2 separate regions of the Homo sapiens genome follow, and region 1 is linked to region 2. Evidence: promoter capture Hi-C in human tissues and cell types (Jung and others, 2019). All regions are on one chromosome and are shown on one strand. Each heading gives the region's core, a stretch centred on a gene start or on the middle of the fragment in contact. The rest is flanking DNA. Distances are from core to core; before and after follow the strand shown. Region 1 overlaps RFX2 (regulatory factor X2). Region 2 holds the start of FUT6 (fucosyltransferase 6).

Region 1 (4,482 bases), core at 1,764-4,263, 170 kb before region 2:
GGTGATAGGACGTGGGGATCACTCTGGTTTTCTCTCTCCTTTTGAAATTTCCCAAACAATACTTTTCTTTTTTTGTTTTAGAGCAGCCTCTGGGCCAGGTGTGGTGGTGCACACCTGAAATCCCAACAGTTTGGGAGGCCGAGGCAAGAGGATCACTTGAGACTAGGAGTTCAAGACCAGCCTGGGCAACATAGCAAGACCTCATCTCTACAAAAAAATTAAAAATTAGCCAGGCATAGTGGTGCACACGTATTTGCACACCTGTAATTTCACCTATTTGGGAGACTGAGAGGGGAGGAGCACTTGAGCCCAGGAGGTTGAGGCTGCGGTGAGCCACGATTGCACCACTGCACTCCAGCCTGGGTGACAGAGCAAGACCCTGTGTCAAACAAACAAACAAACAAAATGTAGCCTCTGGTTTATCCAGCAGAGCTGGATTTACCATTTCTCAGTGTTTTGTTTTTGAGACACAGCCTTGCTCTGTCACCCAGGCTGGAGTGCAGTGGCGTCATCTCGGCTCACTGCAGCCTCCACCTCCTGGGTTCAACCAATTCTCCTGCCTCAGCCTCCCAAGTAGCTGGGATTTACGGGCCCCCACCAGCACGCCTGGCTAATTTTTATATTTTTAGTAGAGACAGGGTTTCGACATGGTGGCCAGGCTGGTCTCAAACTCTTGGCCTCAAGTGATCTGCCTGCCTCAGCCTCCCAAAGTTCTGGGATTACAGGTGTGAGTCACTGTGCCCGGCCTCTTGGTGTCTTTTGCTGTACCTGGACCAATCCACCCCGCCTTCTCTTGGCCTATGGCAGCCCCGGGACATCACAGGCCACAGACTTATCACAGGCAATTATGCCAACTCTCCTCTAACAGAAAGAAACAGCAGCACCTCCAACCCAAAGCTGGTGGCCCAGAGAGTGCAGTAGGCTGCTGCCTGCTGAGGCTGTGATCCTGTGGCCAGCGAGGCTTGGCATCTGCTTTTGTGGGGTTGGGGCTGACTCACGTGCTCTCAAAGCCGGTGTCCTGGCTGTCTATAAACGGCGTGGCGGTGGATCCACGAGGACCAGAGTCCCTTATTCTCTGACACTTTTTCATCCTTCACAGGGAATGTCCTTAGGGAATGTGGATGCGTAGAGGAGGGACAGAAGCGGGAGGAAGCCACAGGGAAGCCTGGTCTCTGGGGACACAGCCCCTGCTCCTGGAGGGGCCTCCCCTGCAGAGTATCCCAGCTGCTGGCTTCAGGATTAAGGCTGATTTCCCCCCGTTTTCCCTCCTCCGAGCACCTGGCTAAACATGTACCTCATCTAGAAAGGGCCCAGGCTGTCTGCTATTGCAATGAAATTTAAAAAGGAAAAGAAGGGCCGGGCATGGTTGCTCACGCCTGTAATCCTAGCACATTGGGAGGCCAAGGCAGGAGGATCACTTGAGGTCAGGAGTTCAAAATCAGCCTGGCCAACATGGTGAATCCCCGTCCCTACTAAAAATACAAAAAAATTAGCCAGGCATGGTGTCACATACCTGTAATCCCAGCTAATCGGGGAGGCTGAGGCTGGAGAATTTCTTGAACCTGGGAGAGAGGGAGGTTGCAGTGAGCCGAGATCGCACTACTGCACTCCAGCCTGGGCAACAGAGTGAGACTGTCTCAAAAATATAATAATAAGAGAAAAAGAAAGAAAGAAAAAGAAAGGACCCAGGTGCTTCCTGCATGTCCCTGTTGCCAGCTCTGGAGAAATGGCATCCTGTGAGCTGGGTGTCTCCACAGCCATGTCTGTGGGTTAATGCTTCCCTCCTGTAAGGACTCTGTGAGCTGTTTTCTGAACTAAATTGTTTAAAGCCCTCTGATCATCATTCTCCCGTAATAAACTAATGTAATGGTTCCCAAACAGTGCCTTATTCCAAAACGTGTTACTAGATGATTGAAGGGGGTGGGGAAGAGTTGTTAATAATAATGGTAATAATAATGGAGATAAGCCATGTGGAGCTCAACAAAGCTGACCTGGTGTTCTCAGCACAGGACTTGTCCGAGCCTTTATTATACTAGCCTGTGAGAGAGGACTCTCTATGACAACGGCATTATGTACAGAATTCCTTGATCACATTCCTCACACAGTTCAGGAAATGCTGAACCAGAGAGGCCAAAGTGAAAGGTCAAGATCCGAGTGTGGTGGCACACGTCAGCTACTCAGAGGCTGCAGCAGGAGGATCACTTCTACCATCCGAGTGTGTTGGCACACGCCAGCTGTCCCAGCTACTCAGAGGCTGAGGCAGGAGGATCACTTGATCCCAGGAGGTCAAGTGATAGTGACCTCCTGGTAGTGACCTCCTGATAGTGAGCTGTGATTGCACAACTGCACTCCAGCCTGGGTGACAGAGTGAGACCCTGTTTCTGAAAAAAAAAAAAAAGAGAGAAGAGGCCAGGCGCAGTGGCTCACGCCTGTAATCCCAGCACTTTGGGAGGCCAAGGCAGGAGGATCACTTGAGCCCAGGAGTTTGAGACCAGCCTGGCCAACATGGCAAAACCCCGTCTCCACTAAAAATACAAAAATAAGCTAGGCATTATGGCTCACGCCTGTCATCCCAGCTACTTGGGAGGCTGAGGCAGGAGAATCTCTTAAACCCGGGAGGCGGAGATTGCAGTGAGCCGAGATGGCACTGCTGTACTCCAGCCTGGGCGACAGAATGAGATTCTGTCTCAAAAAAAAAAAAGAAGAAAGAAAGAAAAAGAATCCCAACCTGTCTTGTTGTTCAGGACATCTGCAAAGGGAGCTGACCCTGGGATGTTTGGTTTCCAGGGGCAACTCGAAGTACCATTACTATGGGATTCGTCTGAAGCCGGACTCACCACTGAACCGGCTGCAGGAGGACACGCAGTACATGGCCATGCGGCAGCAGCCCATGCACCAGAAGCCCAGGTGGGTGCCGGGCCGAGCTGGGAGGAGCTGGCTCTCCCCTGGAGCATGGAGGGGTGGGTGTTTCTCCAACACGAAACAAACTCATCATAACTCCCCAGTCTCCAGCATCCTGGGAAAGCCAAGGTATCCCCCTCTGCTGAGACTGAGGTGAGTCTAGCAGGAGACACAGGAGGCTGGGATGCAACCTCCTCCAGCTAACTTTTCAGACTTTTTTTAAAACCGTTTAAAACTGTTTTTAACAGACTTCATTTTTTAGAGCCATTCTAGGTTCACAGCAAAATTGAGTAGAAAGTACAGAGAGTTGTTCTACACCCCCAGCCCCGCTCCCCACCGCCTCTCCCACCATTCACCTCCCCCACACAGCGGTGCATTGCTCATGACCCGTGACCCTCCGCGGAGCCAGCATCACCCCCCAGAGTCCACAGTCAACATCAGGGCTCACTCTTGGTGTTGTACATTCGACAGTTTGGACAAACCTATAATGACATGTGTCCCCCATCACAGTGTCACGCAGAGTCCTTTCACAGTCCTACACATCCTCCATGTTCTGCCTACCCAGCTTTCCCTCCCCACCCCAGTCTGCAGCAACCTCTAATCCTTCTGCCATCCCCACAGTTTCCCCGTTCCCCAGTGTCATATAGTTGGAATCACAGACCTTTAATTTTTAAAGCTTAGGAAGTAAAGAGAGAGAGGACACTGCAAATAACCCAAGAAGCCAGGAGAAAGAAGCAGATGTGCTCAAGTCACGACTTCTTCTTCACCTTTGGATCCAGTGGCTGGAAAGCCCTGGTTATTTTCTGGAAGATCCTCTTCTCCATCCATCACAAACTTTCTCATCTTCTAAGGCAGGAGCCAGCAAACCTTTCCTGTAAAGAGCCAGAGAGCAAATATCTTAGCCTTGCAGGCCAGACAGTCTCTGTCATGACTGTTCAATTTGGCTACATCCTGAAAGCAGCCACAGACAGCATGAGGATGATGGGCATGGCTGTGTGCCAGTAAAACTTTATTTATAAAAACAAACAGCAGAATTGGCCCTCAGGCCATAGTTTGCTGGCCCCTGGTTTAGGGCCCATTCAAATATCACTGCCTCCCAGTGTGCCTCCACAAGTGCCCCCCCTGAGGGCAGGGGCCACATTGCAATAGCCCCACGTGGCACCTTTACACCTGGTGCTGGACCCTCTGCACAGAGCCACCCGTGTATGTGTGTGGCTCAAAAACCCATTCCAGCTGCTCTGCGTAACCCATTGACTCCTGACCACACAGCCACTCCCAGGAGTTGGAGGTTCCAGGAGAGAGTTTCCAGAGCATTCCTTCTGTACCTCGTTGTCTGCAGACATGGACTCTGGAGCTCACTGCTGTTGTTCAATTTGGGCCCCTGGCAGACAGCTGTGAACCTGTGCTCCAGGCAGTGTGTCATTTTAGGAGCAGCGACACACATTTCAGGGGGACAGGCTGATGCCATTTGCATTTGGAAGCCACAGCCTGAGCCTGTGTCTGTGTGATGCCCACGGCCTGCCCTGAGCCAGGTGGTTTACACACACCTCGCCAGCATGGTCTCCCGCCTCCCTGTAGGCC
Region 2 (4,356 bases), core at 901-3,400:
TGTGGTCTCCGCCTCTACCTCAGCTGATGTCAGAGTGAAGAGCTCCCTTTCCCAACTTCTCTTTCTCTGCCTCTGGAATTTCCTCTGAGGCTTAGAGGGACATGGAAACCCTCCCTGGGTCCCACGAGGGCAGAGGCCCAGCCACCTGGCCGATGTTGGGGGGCTCTGGCCTGCCCCCTCTGGAACCCCAGCACTGCCCTCAAACCCCCATTGCCTCCCTGTATGCCCCGGATCTCACATGTGGTTCATGGCACGCCCAGCCCGTGGGGCCTTCTCCCTCCTCCTGGGCACCAGCTGCCCTTGGCTCCCAGCCCTGGGCCCCAGGGGGAGAAAAATTTCCAGCAGGCTGGCAGCTCCATCTCCCACCCAGCCCTGGCCAGGGAAGGCACTGGAGGGTCCAATGAGGGCCAAGACCCCAACGAGGTGCACAGATGGCCTAACTGCCCCTGCAAGCCTCAAGCAGGTCCTAGCTTGCCCTGAGCCTGAGGGAAGAGGTCCTCATGATACCCTACTCTGGGCTCTGGGCTCAGCTCCTTGGCAGGGAGGTCCCACCTGGCACTGGTATGGTGAGCCCTGCTCAGAGAGGACCAGGAAACCTCTCAAGTCACACAGCAGTTTCAGGATGAGCACACGTTCTCTCTGGCACCATCCCTGAGGTCAGCCCAAGGTCCTCCACCCTCCCTTTGCCCAGCGATCACATCGATGGAATGACTAGAGCCCTACTGTCCCTCACTAGAGACCTACCTTTGGATTTTGAATCCTTAAGAAACAACCCAGCTGGGGGCGGGGCGTGGTGGCTCACGCCTGTAATCCCAGCACTTTGGGAGGCCGAGGCGGGCGGATCACAAGGTCAGGAGATCGAGACCATCCTGGCTAACATGTCTCTACTAAAAATACAAAAAAAAAAAAAAAAATTAGCTGGGCGTGATGGCGGACGCCTGTAGTCCCAGCTACTTGGGGCAGGAGAATGGCGTGAACCCAGGAGGCAGAGCTTGCCATGAGCCGAGATCGTGCCACTGCACTCCAGCCTGGGCCACAGAGCGAGACTCTGTCTCAAAAAAAAAAAAGAAAAAAAACCCAGCTGGGCGGAGTGGCTCATGCCTGGCCTCTAATCCCAGTACTTTAGGAGGCTGAGGCAGACAGATCACCTGAAGTCAGGAGGTCAAGATCAGCCTGGCTAACATGGCGAAAACCAGCTCTATTAAAAAAATACGAAAGTTACCCAGTGCCGTGTCACGCGCCTGTAGTCCCAGCTACTCGGGAGGCTGGGGCATGAGAATCGCTTGAGCCCGGGAGGCATAGGTTACAGTAAACTGAGACTGTGCCACTGCACTCCAGCCCGAGTGACAGAGCAAGATTCCATCTCAAAAAAAAGAGAGAGATAGGGGTATCTCTGTTTTCCCTAGGCTGGTCTCAGACTCCTGGGCTCAAGCGATCTTCCTGCCTCTCCTTCCCAAACTGTTGGGATTACAGGTGTGAGTCACTGTGCATGGCCTCAGAAGTCTTTTTTTTTTTTTTTTTTTTTTTTGAGACAGAGTCTTGCACTGTCGCCCAGGCTGGAGTGCAGTGGCTCAATCTAGGCTCACTGCAAGCTCCGCCTCCCGGGTTCACACCATTCTCCTGCCTCAGCCTCCCAAGTAGCTGGGACTACAGGCACCCACTACCACGCCTGGCTAATTTTTTTGTATTTTTAGTAGAGACAGGGTTTCACCATGTTAGTCAGGATGGATGGTCTTGATCTTCTGATCTCGTGATCTGCCCACCTCGGCCTCCCAAAGTGTTGGGATTACAGGCGTGAGCCACCACGCCCGGCCCCCAGAAGTCATTTTTTTAATAAGTTACAGTCAACCTCACCAGTCAAGGAATGAGACATGAGTGGAATTAGGTTGCCACTTCTGGAGCTCTGGGAGACCCCAACCCCCTGGCCCATCCCTACCTCCCAGAACCTCACTGGTCTGGGCGTGGCTGGGCACTGAGATAGTAGAACTCAGGCAGCATGATGCAGCCTCCCAGAAATGATTTCTAGAACAGGGCAGTCGTGATACTTGGAGGCTGGGCTTTGAGCTCGGTCACCTTTGCACCCAGCTTGGGAGTGAGAGAGTTTAAGGTCATCCTCCCTCAAAACCAGTATTCCAGATCATTTCTCTCCATTCCAGGAAGTTTGCATAGCTCCCTGGACTTCTGCTTTGCACTGCCCTGCAGGAGTGGGTGGGGAAAGGAAGTGGCTTTGAGGCACACAGAGGGGCTTGTTGAGGCCACCGGAGGAAGCTTCTGCCACCAATATGGGACCTGTGCCCAGCCTACCAGAAGAGAGCATCTGAAAACATGTATCGACATGGTAACCCCTCTGCTTGAAGCCTCACATGGCTCCCTATTGCCTTGGTGCTGAACACCCTATGGCTGACCGTGGCCCAGCCTCTGCAACAGCTCTGCCTCCTCTCCAGTGGTGAAGACCCAGCCTGCTGAGACTCCTCCTGCAGTTCCTCAACATGCCTGCATTTCTGCTGCCTCAGGGCCTTTGCGAAGGTTGTTCCTTGTAACTGGAATGCCCTTCCATCCCTTTTTTATTCAAAAGGCTGCAATTTTAATTGAAGAAAGTTCCCTTCCAAGGTTCATGAGTTGCCTGACTTGCCCACCGGTTTCCTGCAAGATCCCTTGGCCTGGCACTTAGTGCTCAGGAAATATTTGGTGATGGGCCAACTGAGTGAGAAGGTGGGATCTGGTGGGAAGGAAAGCGGAAAGGTAGAAATTCTGCTCACTTCCTCATTCCCACCTCCCAAGGAACCCCTGGTGTCCCTGTGGAACCCGCTTTGGGAACCGGTGGTTCAGGTCAGCCTTTTCACTTTGTACTCAAAGCCACATCGCATTGAAGCCACAGGTGGGGCAAGGTCATGCATGACCTGAGTCTCCAAATCCCTTCACCCTGTTTGGTTCTGCAACGGGGATTAGGGGAGCCCCACGATTTGTTTTCAAAGGATGTCCGGGCTCCAGGACAGGATGCCCTGGGTCACCTGATGACAGGTGTGGTGGTTGGAAAGGGCCTGGTTTCAGCTCCGGGTACACTTCCTCCTTCCTTCTGCTGCGTGGTGTGGCCTCTTCCACGTCCTCAGAATCCAGCTGTTACTCCGTCCGCGGCCTCTCAGCTCTAGGGCCCTCTGCACACTGGCCCCCCCAGGTAAGGCCTCTTGTCCCACTTTCACCCCCAACCCGGATCGCATGGGTCCAGGGAAAGGCCTCCTGGCTCCGAGCCTCCTCCCCTCAGCCTCAGTCCTGTCTGCTGTAATTCAGAGTGCGGGTGGGCTGGCACAAGATCCCTGGGGGAGGGTCTGCAGGCTGTGCAGTGGCCTGGCATTTGGCCAGCAGCCCCTAGTCGCAGGCAGGGGTCTTTCTGGATGCACCGAGGTGGGCTGAGGATATGGGAGGTCTGGCTGATTTGCCAAACCAGGAGGAAGTGGGTGTCTGTCTGTCTCTCTTGCAGAGCTCTGCGGTAGAATCCCGTGCCCCCCGACCCCATCAGCAGCCTACACCCCTTCATCCTTCCTGGCCCCGGATTTTCTCTGCCTCTGCCACTCCCGGTGGTAAAAGAGGGCTTAGAATGCGGTTTGCTTTCTGGCTTTGTTTTTTTGCATCCTGATCTTTGTGGCGTGGATCGATCATTTTCCAGGGAAAGTACCTTGGGTGAGATCTCTCTCCTGGACTCCCGTTCCCCGTTTCCCCCAATCTCCCCTCCTGAAGGTCACCGGCAAAGACTTCACTGTCTCCTAGGAAGAGGTCGCCATAAACCCAGGGGCCACATGATAATATATTAATATTAAATGTATCTCTAAACATTAACCTTTCACTGGCAGCCCAAGAGCCCGACAGCACAAAGGAATACTTGGTTAAAATTCAACCTCCCTCCCAGTCCGGGCTCTGAGTGTCCCTCGAGGGCTGTCTCTTGAGTCTTTTTCCAGAACTTTGGTATGCGCTTGTGCTCTCAATCCCTTCTCATCACACCTAGGTCACCATGCCTGGAGCTCCGCTATGCACCATAAGGTTTAGACCAACTCAGTTTATTTATTTTATTTTATTTTATTTTATTTTTTTGAGACAGAGTCTCGCTCTGTTGCCCAGGCTGGAGTGCAGTGGCGCGACCTTGGCTCACTGCAAGCTCCGCCTCCCGGGTTCACACCATTTTCCTGCCTCAGCCTCCCGAGTAGCTGGGACTACAGGTGCCCGCCACCGCGCCTGGCTAATTTTTTGTATTTTTAGTAGAGACGGGGTTTCACCATGTTGGTCAGGACAGTCTCTAACTCCTGACCTCAGGTGATTCGCCCGCCTCCACCTCTCAAAGTGCTGGGACTACAGGCATGAGCC

The links. The method cuts DNA at HindIII sites, captures the fragments that hold promoters and counts their contacts. A contact is called where the count stands out against the background at its distance.
Region 1: a fragment that was not itself captured here is called in contact with the fragment with the promoter of FUT6 in region 2 in 1 of the 25 tissues and cell types used here (pancreas).

What each region holds. Positions count from the first base shown.
Region 1 is chr19:6,011,411-6,015,892 of GRCh38, reverse strand. RFX2 (regulatory factor X2) reads left to right here. Exons shown (of 18, transcript NM_000635.4): 8 at 2,788-2,907. It overlaps RANBP3-DT (RANBP3 divergent transcript), which reads right to left. Exons shown (of 4, transcript NR_046376.1): 2 at 3,669-3,773. Among named protein-coding and RNA genes, the nearest start is that of RANBP3-DT, 35 kb to the right of the region's middle. RefSeq lists an enhancer at 384-883. The HindIII fragment of the contact is 6,319 bases long and covers 1-4,482 here.
Region 2 is chr19:5,837,496-5,841,851 of GRCh38, reverse strand. FUT6 (fucosyltransferase 6) reads left to right here and starts at 2,150. Exons shown (of 3, transcript NM_000150.4): 1 at 2,150-3,175. The HindIII fragment of the contact is 16,612 bases long and covers 1-4,356 here.